2 separate regions of the Homo sapiens genome follow, and region 1 is linked to region 2. Evidence: promoter capture Hi-C in 16 types of primary human blood cells and fetal thymus (Javierre and others, 2016). All regions are on one chromosome and are shown on one strand. The core of a region is centred on a gene start or on the middle of the fragment in contact, and the rest is flanking DNA. Distances in the headings are between cores, read along the strand shown. Region 1 holds the start of METTL9 (methyltransferase 9, His-X-His N1(pi)-histidine). Region 2 overlaps SDR42E2 (short chain dehydrogenase/reductase family 42E, member 2).

What was found. The method cuts DNA at HindIII sites, captures the fragments that hold promoters and counts their contacts. A CHiCAGO score of 5 or more calls a contact.
Region 1: the fragment with the promoter of METTL9 here is called in contact with a fragment that was not itself captured in region 2 in 12 of 17 cell types (fetal thymus, total CD4 T cells, naive CD4 T cells and 9 more); the score reaches 12.8 in fetal thymus.

The regions. Positions count from the first base shown.
Region 1 is chr16:21,597,907-21,603,873 of GRCh38, reverse strand. METTL9 (methyltransferase 9, His-X-His N1(pi)-histidine) reads right to left here and starts at 4,297. Exons shown (of 5, transcript NM_016025.5): 1 at 3,976-4,297. The coding sequence starts at 4,140. LOC101927814 (a long non-coding RNA gene) reads left to right here and starts at 4,489. Exons shown (of 3, transcript NR_110930.1): 1 at 4,489-5,218. RefSeq lists an enhancer at 3,018-3,582 and a silencer at 3,691-4,310. The HindIII fragment of the contact is 7,148 bases long and covers 1-5,967 here.
Region 2 is chr16:22,187,327-22,192,607 of GRCh38, reverse strand. SDR42E2 (short chain dehydrogenase/reductase family 42E, member 2) reads right to left here. Exons shown (of 13, transcript NM_001394319.2): 13 at 857-2,469. The coding sequence ends at 2,215. It overlaps LOC124903666 (a long non-coding RNA gene), which reads left to right and starts at 4,596. Exons shown (of 2, transcript XR_007065028.1): 1 at 4,596-4,637. RefSeq lists enhancers at 902-961, 1,462-1,541, 1,797-2,296 and silencers at 2,002-2,101, 2,242-2,291, 2,382-2,471. The HindIII fragment of the contact is 605 bases long and covers 2,966-3,570 here.

The DNA of each region.
Region 1 (5,967 bases), core at 3,048-5,547, 590 kb after region 2:
CAAAAATATACACATACTTGCAATTTTAAGTTACAACTTAATAATTCCAGATATTGAATGTTATCTGTGCTTTTAAAAAACCTTGCAGTATGTCACCCGGAGAAATCGTTGTGGTTTGGTTCAGCGAGTTCTATAACAATTTTTTCACTCCATCAATTGAGAAGCTACTGAACCGCTATTATTACCAAGAACCTGGGGCCTAAGGGTCCTTTCAAAGTTTCAGTAGCTCCATAATAGTTGCATTAACTTTAAGCACTAGGTGCAATGCATCAAAAAGAATAGATCCTAAGTTTTTTGTTGTTGTCTTTTTAAATTCTGAGTCTGCCAACATTGCAAAGTGACAATATCTACTAGTTTCTCACTGCCTGCCTCTATTTCTTCCCAGTGAGTCAATCTACCCACCCTGCAACCTGTGATTAAGAATATGCTGTTGGAGGCTGGTTGCAGTGGCTCACTCCTGTAATTCCAGCACTTTGGGAAGCCGATGTGGGAAGATCACTTGAGGCCAGGAGTTCAAGACCAGCCTGGCCAACATGGTGAAGCCCTGTCTCTACTAAAACTACAAAAATTAACCAGGTGTGCTGGCACGTGCCTGTAATCCCAGCTATGGAGAGGCTGAGGCATGAGAACCGCTTGAACCCAGGAGGTCGAGGATGCAGTGAGCTGAGATTGTGCCACTACACTCCAGCCTGGGTGACACAGTGAGACCCTGTCTCCAAAAAAAAAAAAAAGCTGTTTGTTAAGGAAGCTGGGAATTTCTCTTGGAAAAAGTCTTTATTCTGTAAGAAGCCACGTAGTAAATGTTTTAGGCTTGCAGGCCATACAGTAGCAAATATGCTGCTATTGTAGCCAGGGAGCTCATAGACCACAGGTAAATGAATGTGGTAGTTCTCTTTCAATAAAACTTTATTTGTGGGCTGGGTGTAGTACCTCACGCCTGTAATCCCAGCACTTTGGGAGGCCCAGGAAGAAGGATCACTTGAGGTCAGGAGTTTGAGACCAGCCTAACCAACATAGTGAAACCCCATCTCTACTGAAAACTACAAAAATTATCTGGGCGTGGTGGTGTTCACCTGTAATCCCAGCTACTCGGGAGGCTGAGACATCAGAATTGCTTGAACCTGGGAGGCAGAGGTTGCAGTGAACCAAAATTGGGCCACTGCGCTCCAGCCTGGGTGACGAAGCGAGACTCCATCTCAAAAAAAAAACACTTTATTTGTAGACACTGAAATAAATTTGAATTCCATAAATGAAACTTCATGTATTACAAAATGTTATTTTGATATTTTCTTGGTAACCATTTAAAAATATAAAACTATTCTTATTTCATAGGCTGTAAAATAAGTCTGTGAGACCAGTCTGGCCTCCCAGCCACTTCCCTGCTCTAAGTGAAACCCTGCTTCTTGCTTGCCCAAAGTGAAACATAATCCCAGTTTTGAAGCTAGCACACCAAACCAAGTTACTAAAATGGCACTGCTACTACAGTTTTAGAGCAGCTTTAGCCCAAAGGAGCCTTGCCTCTCCAAACTATACTAACAAAATAGCCATTTTTAACGAATAAACATTGCCCAAGATCTCTCTTTTAACCACAGAATCCTCCATCATAATTCCTTAATAAAATAACCAGAAGGAACACTTTTGCTAAGTATGGTTCAATCAAATCCACAACCCTACTTTTATGCAACTCCAAAAGGCCCAGATGTGGCTGGCTATGGAACTCACACACCCAACTGAACACTTAGAAGACCTTGTATAAAACTATTAATCTGAAGGAGGAAAAACAGTTACAGTTACTTCACAAGCAACGAAGTTATAAGGCAAACCCAGGATCCTGGAATATTAAGTGGAAAACAAATTATCAACTCCAGCCACAGTGCAGAAAGGACAGTTTCCTACTTTATCTCATGGTGGTTTCTACACACCTTTCTTCTGTTCCTTTTAATCTTTATTCATGCACGATTATTTTCATAATATGAATGTATTCATGTCAAAATAATGTCTGGATTCATTATTCTAAGGAAAAGAGTTGACCCATCCCCCAAATATTCAGAAAACACCATATTAAGTCTTCACCCTAAAGAAATTATCTGCTGAATTGTTAGTGAAGGGGTACACACACACACACACACACACACACACACACAGAATATAAATACGGTATCTGAAATAAACGTATCTGAAACCAGTATTAGTTTTCATTAGAACTTAACAGATTCAGCTTTTAAAAGGTACAGTCAGAAAGTATCCTCTGCTGGGAGATATTCTGAGGCTATGTCTACAGCTGCAATTCCGCCTCCATACACATCACAGTGTTGAAATAGTGTTTCAATTTTAAAATAAGTGCAATTCTTTTATGAGCACTAAAAACCTACCAAGTGGCTGCAGTAGGGGTAATCATGATAAGTGTTATAAATACCAATAGCTAAGAGACTCAACCATAATCCCCCATCAATGGAGATAAATCGCTTTTTCTCCTATCCAGGACCTTATTTCTATCAACTGCTTAAAAATGTTAAAAATGACATTTCTAATTCATTGTCTACCCCATTGTTCCATATGTGACATTCTGGTAACTGTACAGTCAACGGTACAGTACCTTTGAGTTGTCTCTATAAGAATGAACTAGTGTAAGCAAATAATCCATAGGAATAAATGTGGTTTTGCAATTTAAGTTTACATACATTCCTAACCATATCATACAAGTGATCAATGATACTGATATTGCACCTAACAAACTGCAATGGCTGGAGGCTTTCAAAAAAATTTACAGAAATTTAGGATTCCTTTAACAATAGAAAAAAGCCCAATATACATATTACTAAAGACTAAATGCTACTTTTCTAAATTGCTCTATCTCCTTCTTAGACAATTCTCTACCCTCATTAAAACACATGAAATCAACCTGGGTGTAAATTCTCTGAACACCTGGCATAATAAAAAAGTAATGTAGGAAAATGAGAAATATATGAAAATGATGAGACACAAGATGATATAGGGAATAATTAATACTCTATGGAAAAGCAAAATGTATTATAAATGCTAGCTATGACAAGCCAACACTCTGGCAGAGTTCAAAAGCCTCTTTTCAATGAATTTAACATTAACTGCAAACTATGTTAAGGTCATATACGAAATATCTCACTTAATTCTACAGTTAACCTGTACACGTTTAAGTGGCGCAAGACTGAGCTAATGAAAAGCCTACCTACCCGGTCACAGCGTAACGCTCACGATGCATAACTAAAACTCCCTCCCGTCCCGTTCTGTTTTAAAAACCCTTCCTGTAAAACTTGCATAATCTTCCTCCTCATCACACACAATCTTTCTAGCAGGCTGACTAAATCCAAGTTTAAAGGAGATCTCTGCTAGGTAGGAGGGGAAGGTTCCGTAGGATGGGAGCGACAACCTGTCAAACCCATTTTTTAAGTGCTTAGGGAGAAATGTCACCCCAATCAGCCTGGAGAGTTCAATGGCTTGCGATGTACAGTTACATTTCTTCACGACCCTTTGTACGTTCTGGGATTCAACGAGACAACAAGAGGGGCTGGCTTTTCGTTTTGTTTCTCGGGGTAATGGATCTGGCCGGGTCTCTTCAGTCTCAGGCCTCGGTGCCAGGCGGGCGCCCCCAGCCACGCTCTGGCCCCAAAGTTCCCCAGTCCCGCTGCCGGGCGTCCGCAGTCACCGCCCGGGACCCAGGAACAATGCGGGGCTCCGGGCCGCTCACGATCGGGCCCGGGAGGCCATGCCCCGCCTGCGCTGCGGAACAAAAGGCGCTCGCGGGGCCGCGGCCGGGTGCCCGGGGCTCGCGGAGTCGACGCCCGGCGGGGAAGGCGCGGGGAAAACTTTCCAAGGGGCCGAGGCGGAGGGGCGAGGGCCGGGCCGCCCCCTCGCGGAGCCGTCCCGCACAATAGCCGGGCCCAGCGCGGGAAGGCCGGGCCGCCACGCCCCCGCCCCGGCCCCGGCCCCAGCCCGTACCTGGTGGTTCTCCTTCCTGCCGCCCGCGGCCGCCGCCGGCCCACCCGGGCCGCTAGTCATGTTCACGTACAGGGAGCGGGTGAGCGGGCTCCGCAGCGTCCACATCCTCCGCGCCAGCCACACGGACGCCAGGCTCAGGCACAGCCAGCCCGCCAGCAGTCTCATCGGGGGCCGCGGCCGCTCGCTCGGATCACCGCCGGCGCCGGGGCGAGGAGGAGGAGGCACCGCCGCCTCCGGCCACCGCCGCCACCGCCCGAGCTCGAGCCATCGCGGCCGCCTTGCCCATCCAGCCCCCTTCAGGGCAAAGGCTGGGGGTGGGGAGGAGCAGCCGGCGCGCAGCCTCGGCACCTCCCCCTTCCCTTCCGGCCGCGGAACGCCGCTGCCCCCTGCACCAGTTTCCATCCGGAGCACTTACGAGCGGCCGCGTCGCTTTCTCCCCCGGCGCCCTCCCTCCGTCCAATGAGCGGGCCGCTGGGAGGCGGGACAAAGGGAGCGCGCATCCGCCCGGAGCGCGTTCTCGTGTCCCGGCCCTGCCTTGGCCTCTAGTAAATGGCGGAGGTGGTTTTAATTTTTTTGAGGGCTGAGGAGATCACTTCCGAAGGCGGTAACTGCAGCCTCCCTGCCCCTCCAAGGTGGTGCTGGAAGGACCTCCAGTCTTTCCTCGCCTCATCCCACTCCACGGCGGGACTTTGACAGGGTTACCTCTCGACCCTCATCCCACTCCACGGCGGGACTTTGACAGGGTCGTGCAGTTAACCCCGGGGGCGCAAAGAGGGGAGTCATTCCTTTCGTGCATCCTGACACACACAGGTTCTTCCCGGAGACGAATGGTGCCAGTGATGGTTGCCCGCTCGGATGCGTAGTTTCCAGTTTACATTTAGAACCGACCTGCCAGACTCCCTCCTCTACTCTCCCCACCACCACGACCCGCCTGCCCCGTTCCCCAAGCCTGAGAAGTTGCTGGCTACGTGTTTCTATAAAGAATGAGTGAAAATTCTGCCTTTTGGGGAAGCTACCGCAGCTGGGGTACCCACAAGTAATGTTTTAGATGTATTGATGGCCCTGCCCAAGAATGAAGACCTCAAGTTAGACTCCTTGGCTGCCTTGTTTCCTTGAATTAGCACAGGGAAGTTGGACCCAACACTCTTAAGAGTGAACTCAGCTCTGGGAGCAGTGTTTAACCCGGATATTTATTTGATCATTTATAACACGAGGAGACCTAGCAACATTTCAGAACTGAAGGGTTAGTTACACTGTGTTCCTGTCTGCAGTTCTTCCTGCTATTATCCAAGCCACAATTAAGGAGTAACATTTCGTGGGAGTCCCTAACTTTAATACTTTCCTAGGTTTGTTTGGAAAGTGCTTTTAATTTAACTGCACCAGAAATAATGTAAATGTGTCTAAGTTCAAAACAAAAGAAGTAAGCCTTTTGGTTAATTCAGCGTTGCACATCAGAGATTTTCATTTATGAAACAGTGGGGTGGTGAGCCACAGATGGGGAACAAAATCATTCCTTACCCAACAGCTTTTTTTTTTTTTTTTTTTTGAAACGGAGTGGAGTCTCGCTCTGTCTCCAGGCTGGAGTGCAGTGGCTCGATCTCGGCTCACTTCAAACTCCGCCTCCCGGGTTCAAGCAATTCTTCTGCCTCAGCCTCCCGAGCAGCTGGGACTACGGGTGCGCGCCACCATGCCCAGCTAATTTTTGTGTTTTTCGTAGAGACGGGATTTCACCATGTTGGCCAGGATGGTCTCCATCTCTTGACCTCGTGATCCGCCTGCCTCGGCCTCCCAAAGTGCTGGGATTACAGGCGTGAGCCACCGCACCTGGCCCAACAGCTCTTTCATTAGCTTTTAAGAATCTCAGCTTGGCACCTTTGGCTAACAAGGATATCTTGTTGCCTAATGTAACAGGCTGTAACAACAAACAAAAAGGCACAGGGTGGGTGGGGTTCGGTATTTTGTGTTCTCTCTTTCCAATATACTCCCTGACTG
Region 2 (5,281 bases), core at 2,019-4,518:
AAGAACAGATTTCCCAGGATTAGCAGGGAGAAGAAAGAGAGGAAGGAAGTGAGTTTGGATGTAAACATGTTATCGAGAGGAAAGGAAGCCCCAGGACCGCCAGCTTCAAATGGTCCGAGGTTTGCGGCTCTGAGAGAACGAGACCAGAGTTCAACCGCAAGCCTTGGCATGGCCAGAGTGTAGAAGAGTAGAAGTTACCACGTGTTGTGTTTAGGCCAGTGGCGGCTTAGGCGGTGCTCCTCCAAATTCCCCCAGCTGTAGAGCAGAAACCCCCACCCTCCTCTGCTCTTTGGAATGAGACAAAGCCCCAGTTTTCGTCATCTATAAAAGGAGAGTAATAAACCCTATTTAAGAGTAGCTGTAAGAATTAAATAAGATCACATAGATGAAAGCTCTTTTACACTGTCAAGCATTAAACAGACATAGGATTATTATTCTTTCAAAAATTATATACACACATAAAATTCAGCCTAGCAGAGAGGAGCATACATTTTTTTTTAGCTCCTTCCCAAACTGCTCACCTTGTTCAGCAGAGTGGGACACACACTGCGGTGGCCATGTTGGTTCTGATGAGCCCTTTCGATCCCATCCACCTCAGGCTTGTGGTGCTTTTCTTCTCTGCCAGTCCCACGTGTGCATATTATGATCTATACATGGTTGTATTTACACACTGATGTCTTGGTACTTACAACTGATAACTGATACCAAGATGATAGGAGGCGAAGTTTCTGTGGAGAGCAGGGCTAGATAAAGAAGTTTCGTGACCTTAAACTTTAAAGATTATGGTGATTACCACTACCTCTAATTAATAAATAGAAACAGTACTAAATCATAAAATATAACCAACTAAACTCTATTTTTCCCATTATAGCTTTATTGGTACTTCATCGAGACATCCAATTATTTTAAGAGTTTTTTTTTTTAAATTTTTCATGCTCTTTCTGGTACTAAAACCTGTGCTTACTATGCTGTCATCCTCAGACAGGAACCCAAAAAGGCCAAGTCGGGCTCGGCAGAAGCTTGAGTCTCGGTTTTTCCCCAAACCCTGGCTGTCAACACACAGATCTGTGTGAATGAGAAGCCCAGAACATTGGGTCGGGGTGGATCGAATGCAATGTTACCAGACAGAGCAGCAGCCGACGGCGCAAACTCATACCAACGTCACCCGAGCCTGCGTTAGCCCATAGCGACGCGGCAGCCTGGTTCCGGGGAGAACCTACCCGGGAGGCGGAGCTGGAAAGGGGTGAAGCCAGAGAGGGAGGGGGCGGGGCCAGGACTCAATTACACGCGAGAAGGGCGGGACCGGGTCCAGAGGCAGGAGCAAGGACAGACCCAAAAGGAGAAGCCAAAGGGTGGGCTCAAGCGCGCGGGGAGGACCAGAAAGGGGGCGAAACCAGAATGAGGGAGAATCTGGGGGTGGGCCGGGACTGGGCAGGGACTAGGAGAAGGTCCAGAAGGCGGAGGAAGCTGTGAGCCTTGGCCCATATCAGAAACCGGACAGGCCGGAGGGAGGAAAAAAGGGGCAGGGCCAGGGCCTGGAGGGAGGGTCATGGACGTAGGAAAGATTCAGGGGGCGGGACAGAGGCGTGACCAGGACTCAGAAGGCGTGCCCAAACATGGAAGGGCGGGAAGGGGCGTGGCTATGACATGAAGGCGGGGTTAGGCCTGGAGAGCGGCTCAGGACTAGGCTCTGAAGTCAGGGGGCGGGGAAGAGGCGTGCCCAAGCCGTGAAGCAGGGGCGGGGTTATAAAACGGGGGCGGGGCTAGGTCTGGAGGTCTGCTCAGGGGCTAGGCCAGGAAATCAGTGAGCGGGGAAGAAGGCGTGCCCAATTTGAAGGGCGGGTCAAGGGCGTGGTCAAAACATGGAAAGAGACTCGGGGCTACGCGTCTGGGCCGACCAGGGACGTGGCCAGGATTCAGGGGGCGGAGCAGGAGCGTGCCCACTTCGGAGGGCGGGGCGGGACAGGACAGGGGCGGGGCCAAAACACAGGAAGGGCGCAAGGCAAGGTCTGGGAGTAGATAGGGGCGTGGCCAGAAGTCGGCGGTCCGGGCTAGGTCTGGAGAGCGGCTCGGGGGCGTGACCAGGATTCAAGGGGCGGAGCGGAGGCGCGCTCAAACCCAGAAGGCGGGGCAGGGGCTGGTACAAGCCCAGGGAGCCGGGCGTGGGCGAGGGTGCAGCGGGGCCGACCCTAGCGGGCGGCGGACGGCGGACGGTCACAGGCGCTCCACGGCGGCGTGCAGAGGCTGCAGGCCTAGGAAGTGCAGGGCCAGGGCGAGCAAGCCGAGGAACAGCAGCAGCCTGAGCAGCAGGCGCAGGAGGGTCCGCGCCGTGGAGCCGCGGGGCCGCCGGGTCGTGGACTGCACGTATAGCTCCACGGCGTCGGCGAACCTAAACTTATCCGGCGCGTAGCCGAGCTGGGCGCGGGCCTTGGCTATCTGGAAGGTGTGCGTCACGGCCACGCTGCGCACCTGCGGGGACAGGCGGGGCATCCGAGGGCGGGCCTCGTGGGAGGAGGACATCCTCTACTTCGTTGTTTACGGAAAGGGAAAAGAGAGGGCAGGGATTTCCCCTCCATTACATAGTGATTTAAAAGGACCCGAGTGCAGCGTCTTGCTCCTGCGATGCCCTCATTAGAGAGGTCTTCCTTTCTTCCTTACATGTTCATTTTTATTGGAGGGTGCCGCCTTTGCGTCGCCCCCTCCAGCCCCGCTGAATTCGCACCCTATTTAACTCCTTGGTCCCTAAGAAGCAAAGGTCTCACCCCTACACTCATCTTCCCGGCCTAGCACGGTGCTGGGACTCAGGAGGCCCTTGATACATTCTTAGGCATCCGCTAGGAGAAGGTGAACGCCTGCCAGAAACATCTGCAGGAAACGACCTTGGCTTCCTGCCCCCAACCCCAGACCAACTGTGACCAGGAGGGCCCCAGTCGCAGCCTTCATGCCCTCGCTTATTAACTAAGCTTCCCTAAGAGAGGAATTCGATTATGCAGAACTGATTGCTCTCCAGGGTCTAAGCTGTGTTTCCCCTGCTGCCAGATGGCTTGGGGCCCACTGGTTTGAAGGGTAGTAATGATAGCTATCAGCAGTTAAGGAACACACACCCTGCATTTGGCCTGGACTAAATCCTTTCTATGCCCTACCTCATTTAATCCTCTCAGGTGGTACTAGCACTATCTGTTCTGTGCATACTTGGAAAAAGGTCAGAGAGGTTGAGTGACTTGCCTGGGGTCGCACAGGGGAGCCAGGTTCTAGCCTAATTTCTTCTCTGCTGTGCTGGCACCTGGAGATGTTCTCCCACCTGACTCATTTCTTCCTCTCTTTTTCCTCAGCCGGACCCTGGGGAAGAATCCACCAGCTGCTGGATTCTCCCATGGCATTGAAACAGCCCCTGGGGTCAAACCTGTGGTCTTGGATGCTTAATGGGGGGTGAGGAGAGAGGCCAGTATTTGTCCCTTTTTTTCCTAGTCAGTAAGTGCAGGGCTTTGGGGAGCACAGGAGTTGAGTTACGCTAGATAAGCAGGGTCCCTAATACACCTAGATGTCTCTAGATGTCACCTCTGGGAAGCTTTCTCTGACTTCCTCAGAGTTGGCTGAGGCGCCCCTTCTGTGTGCACTGGAGTTTCTCGCGATTTTCCCAAGAATGGCTCTAATTACAGTGTTGAGTTGCCTGGTTAGTGGGCTGTCTTCCCCTTTGAACTAGGAGCTCCCTAAGGGCAAGGACTATGTCTTCTTGCCTCCGTTGCTCAGCACAGTGCCTGGTAACATTTATGTTAAATGCATAAAAGGCTATAAAGTCAAACTGGAGGGCTGGTTGATGTGTCACAGATTGACCAGCAGAGGGTACCCGAGCCACAGCCAAGGAACTTCCACAGTTAAGGACATTGCCCCTGAGCTGAACAAGGAAATCCCCAAGTTAAACAAGAGGGAGAGGAGCCAAGTCCCTGCCTGACCACAATTCAGCTGCACCCTGGCAGCTATTTTATGTGGATGTGATTCCTGATGCATTTTCACAAGCTAATGGTTAAGCTTGAAATCACTGAGGTCTGGGTTCAAATCCCAGCTCTACCATTTAAGTGAGTGATCACGGGCAGGTTATTTCACTGTGTGTCTCATTTCCTCCTCTCTAAATGGAGAGGACAATGTTGTCTACAACTCAGTTAAATGAGATAAAGCACAGTGCCTGGCATACTGTCACAACTCAAGAGATTGTCAGTATCATCTTATTCTCTCCTCCACTGATCCGGATGGCTCAAAGGAGAAGCCATAGGTGACTACTTCTTTCTGTGGCCCATTCTCCACTCTCCCCCTCTGACTCCCCTTGTTAAAGAGCACTGAACATGGAGTCTGAAGCCAATTCCAGTATGGTGTGGCCTTGGACAAATAATTTTCCTAGTGCTCAATTTTTCATCATAAAATGGAGATCACGATTTTTTTTTGACCTTTTTAACTTAGCAGGGCATCAGAGACAATAAAACGAGAGTGGACTGGAAGTAATTTTTTTTTTTTTTTTAGATGGAGTCTTGTGCTGTCACCCAGGCTGGAGTACAATGGTGTGGTCTCAGCACACTGCAACCTCCACCTTCCAGGTTCAAGCGACTCTTCTGCCTCAGCATCCCGAGTAGCTGGGACTACAGGTATGTGCCACCACACCCAGCTAATTTTTGTATTTTTAGTAGAGACAGGATTTCACTGCGTTGGCCAGGCTGGTCTCAAACTCCTGACCTCAGGTTATCCACCCGCCTCAGCCTCCCAAAGTGCTGGGAACAAGTGTGAGCCACCGTGCCCGACTGGACTGGAAGGATTTTTGCAAATAACCTCAAATACCACCGATTACTTTGCTATTTACAATCTGTGATGAAAACATCCTCTCTTTTAACTAAGCAAATATAAACCTGCATCATCATTATTATGAGAATAGTATTCTGAGCCAGGCATGGTGGTGCATGCCTGTAATCTCAGCTATTTAGAAGGCTGAGGGGGGAGAATCTTTTTTTTTTTTTTTGGTTTTTAGGGGCAGGATCTCCATCTGTTGCCTAGGCTGGAGTACAGTGGTGCAATCTGCAGCCTTGAACTCCTGGGCTCAAGTAATCCCCCACCTGAGCTGGGACTAAAGGCATGCACCACCTTGCCTGGCTAATTTTAAAATTTTTTGTAGAGATGAGGTCTTGCTATGTTGCCCAGGCTGGTCTCAAACTCCTGGCCTCAAGTGATCCTCCTGTCTCAGCCTCCCAAAGCACTGGGATTATAGGTGCGAGCCACCACACCTGGCCAAGAGGAT